Linked DNA regions of Homo sapiens: all the other regions are linked to region 1. Evidence: promoter capture Hi-C in human tissues and cell types (Jung and others, 2019). All regions are on one chromosome and are shown on one strand. The core of a region is centred on a gene start or on the middle of the fragment in contact, and the rest is flanking DNA. Distances in the headings are between cores, read along the strand shown.

The links. The method cuts DNA at HindIII sites, captures the fragments that hold promoters and counts their contacts. A contact is called where the count stands out against the background at its distance.
Region 2: a fragment that was not itself captured here is called in contact with the fragment with the promoter of AFAP1L1 in region 1 in 1 of the 25 tissues and cell types used here (thymus).
Region 3: a fragment that was not itself captured here is called in contact with the fragment with the promoter of AFAP1L1 in region 1 in 1 of the 25 tissues and cell types used here (IMR-90 fibroblasts).

The regions. Positions count from the first base shown.
Region 1 is chr5:149,269,833-149,273,552 of GRCh38, forward strand. It overlaps AFAP1L1 (actin filament associated protein 1 like 1), which reads left to right and starts at 2,027. Exons shown (of 19, transcript NM_152406.4): 1 at 2,027-2,152. The coding sequence starts at 2,137. RefSeq lists enhancers at 2,006-2,545, 2,546-3,087, 3,088-3,627. The HindIII fragment of the contact is 7,342 bases long and covers 1-3,720 here.
Region 2 is chr5:148,986,529-148,990,092 of GRCh38, forward strand. It overlaps SH3TC2 (SH3 domain and tetratricopeptide repeats 2), which reads right to left. Exons shown (of 17, transcript NM_024577.4): 17 at 1-3,564. Among named protein-coding and RNA genes, the nearest start is that of MIR584, 74 kb to the right of the region's middle. The HindIII fragment of the contact is 3,723 bases long and covers 1-3,309 here.
Region 3 is chr5:148,958,937-148,962,619 of GRCh38, forward strand. No RefSeq gene overlaps it. Among named protein-coding and RNA genes, the nearest start is that of MIR584, 100 kb to the right of the region's middle. The HindIII fragment of the contact is 8,437 bases long and covers 1-3,683 here.

The sequences.
Region 1 (3,720 bases), core at 777-3,276:
AAATAAAATAAAATACAATTTATGGCCTTGTTTCCAAGTGTTCAGAGTTCAAACAATAAACTTTTAAAACTTAATCCACTGGTAAATTGTTGGTTGGCTGCTTTAGAATTGAAACTGACCTTTTCAAATTGGAAAAGGGGACAGCAACAAAAAGGAACTCAGAAAATAATAATGGCTCATATTTTATAGCTGTTTGTGGTTTATAAAGTGGGTTTGTATTATTTCATTTGCCCTACCAACAGTCCTGTGAGGACTTACAGTATGAGGCTTCCCATAGCACAGATGAGCAAGAAAACCTCATTGACGAAAAGTTATTATACTATGTAGTATTTAGATTGGAGCAAAAGTAATAGCGTTTTTTGCCATTACTTTCAGTGGCAAAAACCACTATTACTTTTGCACCAAACTAACAGAACAAGAGCCATGCACAAGTTTTCATACACTGTTCACAACATCACATTTGGTCTGAGTGCTCACACACACACACACTAAATTACTGATGCAATATTTTAAGAAAATGTTAATTTTAATTTGCCCATAAAAGCAATAGAGAAAATATTCCCGGCCAGGCTAGGTGGCTGGCGCCTGTAATCCCAGCACTTTGGGAGGCCGAGGCAGGTGGATCACCTGAGGTCAGGAGTTCGAGACCAGCCTGGCCAACATGGCGAAACGTCGTCTCTACTAAAAATACAAAAATTTGCCCGGAGTGATGGTGGGCGCCTGTAATTCCAGCTACTCAGGAGGCTGAGGCAGGAGAATTGCTTGAACCCGGGAGGCAGAGGTTGCAGTGAGCCGAGATCGCGCCACTGCACTCCAGCCTCGGCGACAAAGGGAGACTTTTCAAGAAAAAAAAAAAAGAAGAAAAGAAAATATTCCCAGTCCAGGAAAGTACAGGAGGGTCTTTCCCAGGCCTTTTGTTGCCTCCATACCTCTGTGGTAGCTGTTCCCTGTTCCAGAATGTTCTAAGTAGGGAACAGTGGTCAGCTCAAAGCTGAAAACCATGGCCTGGCCCATGGTGGGAGGAGCAGTGTCTAGGAGAACAATTGGTCCTGGACTTTATGAAGGGTCTTAAAGTCAGACATTTGATATTGTGTATAAATGAGTGAGACCTATTTTCACAGGGATATACTAATAAGGTGAAGAAGTTGACATTCTTCATACAGCTTTAAACTTAGATCCCATTACTGTTCCACACTGGTCATAGCAATATTTTCTACAATCTTGCGAAAAGTACACTTATATTGCACTGTATTTTGTATGCTAAAAGTATTCATTTCCACATTTTTTATCACCCTGTTCTGCATGTTTTCACGTGTTACTCATTTTTCTATTCTTTTTCTGAATTCTCCCAGATCCTCGTTATGTTTTCACGTTTTAGTACACAAGGAACCTCAAAAGTTGAAAGTGTCCCAAGCCCTTGCCCACCTTTCAGCAAGCCTCTCTTTCTCCCTTTCCCAGGTGCTTTTCTTTCTGAAGATCTTTGTTATTATTTAACTCCTCTTTCGCAACACCACTGACATTGCACCGGCATCGCCGCGGGCCCACTGTCTGGCTTAGAAGGTGCTCAAGAAAGACCCGCGGCGAATGGAGAAGACAAGCCCAAAGCCAGGAAATGGGTGGCGGCTGCAGGGAAGGGGGTTTTGATTCCCTAGGATAAAAACGCGCTCCAACAGTCTCCGCATTCCGGCATGGAGCCGGCTGAGGGGTGCGGTGGTAAGACCCCATCGCTAGCGGAGTGCAAGCAAAGCCGCACACCTCCTGGGTCCGGGCTGGGGCAGGCCGCGCGGGCGCGGGAACGAACGCGTGCGGACGGGGAAAAGGGTCCTCCAAGCCCAAGTGGGAGCGCCGCGGAGGGCGAGCGAGCGGCAGGGCGCGGCGGGGCGTGTGCGGCACCACGGGACAGCGGGCTGCGGCCCAGGGGGCGAGGCGTGCTCGGGTCTATTCCGGGAGCGGCTCTGAGGGGCGGGCGCGGGCGCGGGCGGGGCGGGGGCTGCCGGCGAGCATCCTGTCTGGGGGAGGGGACCGCAGAGAGCGCCGGCCGCTGGGCTGGCCTGAGAGCGCAGCGCGCCGGCCGCTACCAGCCGCGCCGGAGCCCCTGCGCCCTGCGGCCCGCTCCCCGGGGACCGGGCCGGCGCCATGGACCGAGGCCAGGGTAAGAGGGGCCGCGACGCCCGCACTTGTTGCGGCGCCGGGCGGGAAAGGGAGACTGGACGATCTGAAGCCGGAGAGGAGGAGGGAGAGAGGCGGGCGGTGGGGCGGGGGCTGAGGAACGCTCGGAGGGGACTGGGAGACGCGGCGCTTATGCAAAGGTGCCTTCGGCTGCCGGGACAACCCGGTGCGTGTCAACGCCCGTGTCCTGGGGCCAACTCGCCTCTCGTGTGTGAAATCAGAGTTTTCATAGGCTAACGATTTGTAACTTCATAAAAGATCCCCCTCTAGTTTCCGGAGGACAGCGAGCTCCTCCCACCTCATTCCACTCTAAAGGGGAAAACAAGGTGTACAGGTTCAACTCCCGAAACACCCGCTGTGGGCAGCCCCTAGGGAGAAGCTCTAGGGGACCGAAGTTTGCAGCTGCCTAGGGCATTGCGAGAAGGAGGAGCGCCGTGAGCAGGCGCGCGTGTGCATGCATGTGTGCGCCAGGGAGGGAGGAGGCGGGGGTGGTTCTATCCCGCACCAGCTGTGTCCTCGGCCCAGCCCTTCTCTCTGGACCAGCGACAAAGTTGGACTAGATGGTCTCCAAGGCACCTTGCCGACCCTTTTCCAGTGTATTTGGTAGACGTTTCACAGAAGTGGAGGGGACTTACTGAAATTGAGATTGACATAAGCCGAGAGGGCAGCATTCGTAGGGGGCTAGCGCACATTTTTTTCTGTTTGTTTTGTTTTGTTTGAGACGGAGTTTCGCTCTTGTTGCCCAGGCTGGAGTGAAGTGGCGCGATCTTGGCTCACTGCAACCTCCGCCTCCCGGGTTCAAGCGATTCTCCTACCTCAGCCTCCCGAATAGCTGGGATTAGAGGCATGCGCCACCACACCCGGCTAATTTTTGTATTTTTAACAGAGACGGGGTTTCACCATATTGGCCAGGCTGGTCTGGAGCTCCTGACCTCAGGTGATCAGCCGGCCCCGGCCTCTCAAAGTGCTGGGATTACGGGCGTGAGCCACCGCGCCCGGCAGCGCACATTTTAAGTAAAGGTCTAGACATGGCCTTTGGCAATGGCCAGATGGGCATGTGTGTGTCTGTAAAGAAGTGGCCTGCTTGGACATGTGAACAGTGTCAGAGGCTGGGAATCAGAACCCCAGGGTTTCAGTCTGCACCTCTGGGATCCAAAGAGATCACAGGTGTGACGGCACTAGATAAACTAGTGAGTGCTGTGCCAACAGGCGAAGTGTTGTTGTTGTTGCTGTTATTAATAATGGAAAATTCATTCCCCTCCCCACGATAATCTCACACCTCTCCCCCATCTGCCTGTTTGCTGTGCTGAGCCCCCGAAGGGAGGAAAAAAAGAAGGGAACAGGGGCATGGGAGCAATTAGCAGGCACTGGGGCAGGGATGAGCCGGGAGCAGGTGTGGGGTAACCTCCCTTACTCCTGTTAAACGGAAAGTCAGGCTTGGCGAGCTCAGAGGGCCAGAGGGGACTCCTGGCTTCCAGTTCAACCTCCTCACTTGCCCCTCCCCAACAGAGAATACTGCATTCACCTTCTCCTTCAGGGACTGGGAAGGGC
Region 2 (3,564 bases), core at 198-2,697, 280 kb before region 1:
CCAGGGTAGCAACCTCCATCAACTACATTGCTTAGAATGCAGTAAGTTCTTAATAAATGCTTGTTGAATTATCATTTTAAAAGTGAACTTCAATTAGATTATTCATACACAACAGGTTTGAGTACATGACAGATACCTTTTTTGACAAATTATTAAGCCACTTGTTAGGGTGACTTGTAGGCATCATAATAAGCCAAATCAGAGCATAAGAATTGCTCAGTCAACCAAATGTGACGAGCCTAAATCCCATTCCCATGCTGTAATCTCCCAGTCCTGTTCTGTCTTGCTCCTCCAAGGGACACGTTGTATAAACAGCATCAAGTGTTAACTTGTTAAAACAGTTACACCCAAAAAATGCTGAGATTATTTAACAATGCAATAATATGAGGTCATATCAAGAATTCCAAGGAGAGGCAGAGTTTTCAAAGACTCCAGTTCAATGCCAGGGAGCTATTGTTTCTAAAATGATTTTTGGAAAATGAAATATTAATTCCCCAGCTAATGTATTTCATGGTAGTTCATTGTGCTTAATTCTCTAATCTGAAATTCTTTATTTTAGATCCATTCCAAAATCATCTTATTAGTCTCACACTTTAGAAGAAATGTGTAAATCAAATGCTTCTAAATTTAATTTGATTTAAATTATTTTAACCACTGTAACCCCTCTGTGGGGAGAGGAGAAAAAGCACATTTTTGCCAATGGTCTTTGTTCTGAACAAAGATTGGTTCTATCTGTCACCATTGGGAATGTTCAGGAATATTCTCATTGGATTGCAAGTGCCAAGAGGACAAGAACTTTATAAGTTTTTTTCATTGATCTATTGCTACAGCCTGGGGCAGTGCCAGGCACATAGAAGGAATCTAACAACTATTTATTGAGTATGTAAGTAAACTTGAGGAGATAAGGTGTTGAAACTCTCCCAGGCCTTATTCATGAGAGATCAGGCTGAGCTTCCAGCTAACATTTCTATCCCACAGCAGACCTGCATGGTCTTTACATCTATAGTCTTGGGCATATTCCATAAGACTTCCACATATTTGGCTGGGTTTCTCACCTATAGCATTTTCAAAGAGTCTCACTATATATAAACACTGAAATAACTAAGTGCCAGGAATGACTACAGAAACAAAGGGAAACCTTATAACGAGTGTGGTGGAGTGATTCAGTGAAGATCATCAGATTAAGACTGAGAAGAACAAAGCTGTGGTCACTCTCCCACCACTTAACAAGCATGGGAAGCTCACCAAGTCATGTCCTCACTCGAGGCCTCATTCAAAATCTGTGTGTGTGTGTGTGTGTGTGTGTGTGTGTGTGTGTGTGTGTGTGTTCTTTAGATCATGAAACTTCTCATCTGAAAATCTCCACTCTGTGGCCCAGAGTAAGCTTACATAGTGAGTGCACCTAAAGGTGAGCCATCTCCACTTTGGCCACTTCTCCAGATACCCACAAGGAAGTGCCGAGAATGCTGTTGCACCTCCTCTGGCCAAGGACAGAGAGTCATATCATCTGCCCACTTGGAGACAGAGAAGGTGACTTACCTAATATTTTTCCTGCATGTCTTAAGGACAAGGCTGGGTTCTTTTGGCCTTACTGGGTAATAAAAACTCTATGCACACAGGCTAGAAGTTGAGTGGTGGAAGATTCAAGAGAACAAGCTAGATTTTATGAAAAGTGGGTAACAAAGCATCTTTACTCCTTCTCCCATGGACATGAAAATCATTATCAAAAATCCTACCCCAGATGGGAATGTTATCTGGTCTTGTAAAGCTGCCTTACTATCTAGTCCCCAAGATAGCCCCAAGTGAACCAGGCTTCCCAGTGCTCATGCCATTGAGTAATCCCCTCCTATACCAGCTCTAGGCTGGCTTTGTATAACCAATAAAATATAGCAGATGTGACACTGTGTGACTTCTGAGGCCAGGTCATAGGAAGCTTTGCAGCTCCCCGTTTAATCTCCTGGAATGCTAGCTCTTGGAATGCACTCTCTTGGAACCAGCCACCATGCTGTAAGACGGCCAAGCCACATGGAGTCGACATGGCTCACGGCTCCAGTTGATCACAGCCCCAGCTGAGCTCCCAACCAACTGCAAGCATCAACTGTTAGCCCCGTGAGGAAGCCATCTTCGATGCCCAGCCCAGAGGAGCCTTTGATGACTCCAGCTCTGGCCACTATTGGACTGCAACAACAGTAGAGAACCCAAGCGAGAATTGCCCGGGTGAGCCCAGTCAATCCATCAGACCAACAGATGATGATAAGCTGTTTTAAATCAGAAACTTTTGGGGTGGTTTGTTATGTCACTTGTTCCACCTCATGGTTCAAAAACACGATCCCCATAACTTTAATGTTTAAGGGTTATCACTTTGCTTTCTTCTTTGGATTTGAGATGTCATTTGCAAGCAACCTTCTCTCTCACTCAAAATGTTTCCCTTATCTGGTCTAGTTGTGCCCTACTGAGCCCAGACATGAAGGAAATAAAAAAACAACCACCAACCACACACTCATATAACACACACAACACACACAAAACAATGTCTTGGATTGTGGAAGAATTTGCTATTGTCATTGTTTTTTAACGTATTTTCTTTATATTTCCTTGAGTTCCTTTTGGAGTCATTGAATTCCCTTTTTGAGTCTTTTTTCCAAGATTACAGGCTCAAGTCATGGGTTTTAAAAATAGCCATAATCTATTAACGACCTATTACATTCCAGCCACCATGCTAACTGCTTTAGACATATTAATTCATTAATTTTACAATAACTTTGCTATATAGGTATTTATTATCCCCATTTTACAGTTGAAAGAGCCATAGCTCAGAAAGATAAAGTGATTTGTTAATGCTACACAGATACTAAGCACTTTGAGACAAGATTTGAACCTAGGTCTACCTTAACCAGCATAAATATGGCTGAGGAATATCTGAATTCATTCACATCCAGAAATCACATTGTAGTTGTTGAATCCTTTGGCAGGAGCTATACCTTGGTCAGCAGAACTGTGTACCTTGGAAAATCACTCTGAAGGAAGGACTTACATGTGAGTTTTGGGGATTGCAAAGTGTTGACATTTTCAGACCACCTATGTATATTGCTGCAGATGTTGGTACAATTCTGTATTGTCCGGTTTGCACTGATAATAAAACAGTCTGATAAAATCTTATGCCATTCTTCCAGAACATGAATACTGGAACCACTCATTCAAGGGGATCTGGAGAGTGACCCAGGATAGAGTGAGTCACAGGGACCCAAGAGCTTCAACAATCTGGTATTCAGAAGCAGCTGGAATGAACGGAGAGAGAAGAACTATATAGCAACCAGGACATTTGGGAAATGTCCCTATGAATCAATCCACCTGCACTGGGGAAAAATGAGATACATAACAGAAAAGAATGAGTTCTTGGGGTGTGGGGATACACAAGTGTGTGCATGTTTGTGTGTATGTGTGTGTGTTTGATGGGGTGGGGGCTGCTTCTTTTCTAGGAGTCATTTCCAAGCAACCTCTCCTCTCACTCAAAATATAGCTCCCTTAAGCCAGTTTTCCCTGCTTTCTCTCATGGGTGAACCA
Region 3 (3,683 bases), core at 766-3,265, 310 kb before region 1:
GGAATGAGCTGTGCATGACGGGACCCTGCCCTCCCTGCCACCACCCCCACCCCGCTGCTGCCACTCTGAACTCCTGCCATGTCTCTCCTTTTGAGGTCTGCCCACTGACTGTTCTCCTCCTTCATACCACATTTCCCCATCTCCTAGCCTGGCTCATCCTCCAGATCTTGGCTTAGACATCCCTTCTTCCAGAAGCCAGCACCACTCTCCCTGGAACTCCTCTTCTGAATCCCCCTGGAGCACTGATCACACTGCATATTGGTTTCCTATTTCCTTGTCCACCTCCCCAGCTAAACTTGAGCACCCCCAGGTCAAGGACTACGTCTATCCCATTTTCTCCTATGTCCCAAGCAGCTAACACGGTGCCTGGCACTTAGAAAGTGCCCAGAACTATTTCTTAAATAAATGAATGAATTAAAATAAATGACTCTAAGCTGAGCCACCTGCTTTTTACCACCAGGCATTGTGTTTCTCATCTCCATCTGCCCATCAACCTCTGCCTTCATTATGTCTAACAAGGGGTTCCCTACTGCTGTAAAATAAAGAAAGCAGTCTGCCTCAGCCCAGACAGTGACTGGTCAGTCCTACTCATGGCAACTGCTGGTGTCCCCTAACTTCCCAGGAGAAAGTGCAGTCAGAAGCAATAAGGAGTTGTCTACATTTCAGGCTTGTTAGACATTCTCTCCCCCCAAAACGTGTTTTCCTGGTGACTAGGAATGCATTTCAAAGTTAGATTTTTTTTTTTTTTTACCAATTTATACAGCATTCTGAGGCTTGGCTTCCTCTGAGTGAGGCTCCAAATCATTAGAGACCCCGTGGCTAAAAACCCCATAGGAGACATCTTGTGCAGGGTAACCCCAATATGAACAAGCTTATTCTTCAGCTTGCATGCAAATGAGATCCTGGTGGTTCTGTTCAATCAATGGCATCTAGGTATTGAAGACATACTATGTGCCAGTCTGCATCAAATGATTCTGATCTGTGGAGAAGAGTCAGCTTTATCCCTGCCTTTCACAGAAGTGGCCTTCTAGCAGGAATTGTAGAATTAAGCAACTTATTACAATTATTCAATGACATGCAATGAGATGCAAGCTGAGGAGGATCCCTGAGCACCCTGAAGCTCCCTAGAGTGATGGCAACAGAGCCTGGGACTGAAGTACCTATGGGCTGAGAGAGGACAGTTTGGATGAGAGGTGGAGGTGCTAGGTGCCAAGATAGCTCAGCCTGAGTGTCCTGGCCTGAGTCAAAGTGGCTGCCCTAAAGCTGTGACCTTTGGCCTGAGAGCTAAAGGATGTGTAGGTGTTCACCAGGCTAAGGAAGGGAGAGAGTGTGTGCAGATGCAATGTGTGTGTGCACAGGTATATGTGTGTGCATGTATGTGTGTGCATATGCATGTGAGCATGTGTATGCTACAAGTGTATTGTGTGTGACGCATGTGTCCATGCATGTGTGTGCATGTGTAAGAGCATCTGTATGCCACAAGTATGTTGTTTGTGCATGTGTATGTTACAAGTGCATGTGTGTGTGGGTTGCAGATGCATGTATGAAAACATAGATGCCACGAGTATATTGTCCATATGTGTATGTCCATGTGAGAGCATATGCAGGTGCATGTATGTGAGCATGTGTGTACAAGTATATTGTGTGTACATGTGTGTGCACGTGTGTATGAGTGTACATATGCCACAAGTACATGTGCGTGCAGGTTTCAGGAGCATGTATGTGTGTATGTGTTTGTGTGTCCCAAGTGCCTGCGTACCACTTATAGACACTCTTCAGCCTTTACATCTCCTTCCTATCACAAGGCAGTCATTGCGAAGTGGATTTCAAGCCTTCTCCATATGGTGCAGTGTTTCCAAGCCTCTTTTGGATCATGGATCATTTCAATTAACAACATAACAACAACAGCTATTCCATATTAACTGCATGGCAGTCATTGTGCCAGACATTTAATGTGTGTTCTCTCATTTTCTTCTCCAGCAAACCCAAGAGGCAGGCCTATGGTTATTGTTCCATTCTACAGAAGAAGAAACACAGGCTCAGGGAGAGGAAGGCTCTTTCCCATGGTGGCCCTGAGCACAGGTCTGTATGATCCAAAGTATATGCTCTAATCCACTAAACTCTTTCCTGCCACCAGAGCAAGTGACACACCAGATTGACCTTATAGCAGGTCCCCCTCCCACTGTTAACTACAACATTCTCCTAGCAGTGAATGAAAAGTATTCAATGAAGTTCTGTTCCAGCTCAACCACTGATTCACTGTGTGACACTGGAAAAGTCCCCCATTCTTTGTTGCCCTGGAGCTTGCTGAGCTCTATCACTCTACATGAAGCGCTTAACACCACCATCCACAGATGGCAGGCAGGTTAAATAATCTCATGAAATCCCTGTTTCCTCATCGCTAAAATGGAGCTAACAATGGTGCACTCCTGATAGTACTGTGGAGGGATTGACCAAGCTCATGTGTGAAGAATGCTCAGCCCTGTGACTGCCTCACAATGTATGCCCAATAAACTGCAGCTGTCGCTGATGCTGAGAACACAGGAGAGCCAGAGAGCTGAGAGCACCAGCTTGGGAATCAAGTGGACCTGGATTCAAATGATTAAAATGCTCACTTTGCCTTCTAATGGCCGCGTGACCTTGGCAAAAGTTATTTAGCTGTCAACTTTTCCTTGCTTGTAAAATAGGAATTAAAATAGCACCTACTTCATAGGTGTGTTTGAGGAATACATGAGATAATACACATAGCATTGCCCTATGAATGTTAGTTAACATCATTACTATTTGCACACATTGAGTAATATTATAAATAAGGATTATGTGGGGTCTAATTTTGTTCCAGTTCAAGGTTTTAGAAAAAAATAAATAGAGGTATCTGGTTTGGTCAGATTTACTAGACATTGTACTGTTTGTAAAAAATTTAAAAGAAAAAAAAAAACCGGACCTGTCTCATGGGTCAATAGAAAGTCAATTTCCTTTTGGCTGAGGCCAGCGATTCTGTGCAGTTTATTCTGGTGCTGGCTGGCGGTTTGGTTAGGTTCAAGGCCATGACCATGAGTAAGTGATTCACTCTTGCCAAAAACTGCAATCATGGTCATATTCTAAATATTTATACTAAAAGAAACCAAACCTGCTCCACCTTTAGGGGTCACAGGCACCACTCCCTCACATACTGGAGTTCATTCATTCATCCAACTCAGGCTTATTAACCATTCACCTCATGCCAGACACCAGGCACTGGTCATGCTGGTGGCTAATGGGACAGAAACCTGCTAGCAGCTTTGGCCAATTTTGGAGAAACAACCGAATCAGGGCCCTCAATGATGGTAGCTGCACCTGGGCTGTGCAGGCTCCTACAGAGAATGCAGGCCATCTGTTTGGTGCATATCACAATGTGGTCTGTTCCAGCTGGGAAAGGCACTTGGGGATCATCTCAGGCAACACACACCCTTTACAGCCACTGAGATCTCACAGCTGAGCTAAGATCCTGCTATTCTGACTCCTAGATCAGCACCTCTCCCTCCCTCCTAGATGCCCCAAGATTTCCTCCACTTCATACAGAGCAGGCGGTCTCCAGACATTTTAGCTCACAAACGACTTCAAACATAGTGGTAATGAGAATTGAAAAAGTAATACCACTCGTAACAGTATCTTTCACTTACTGGGTGATTTCTGGGTGTCAG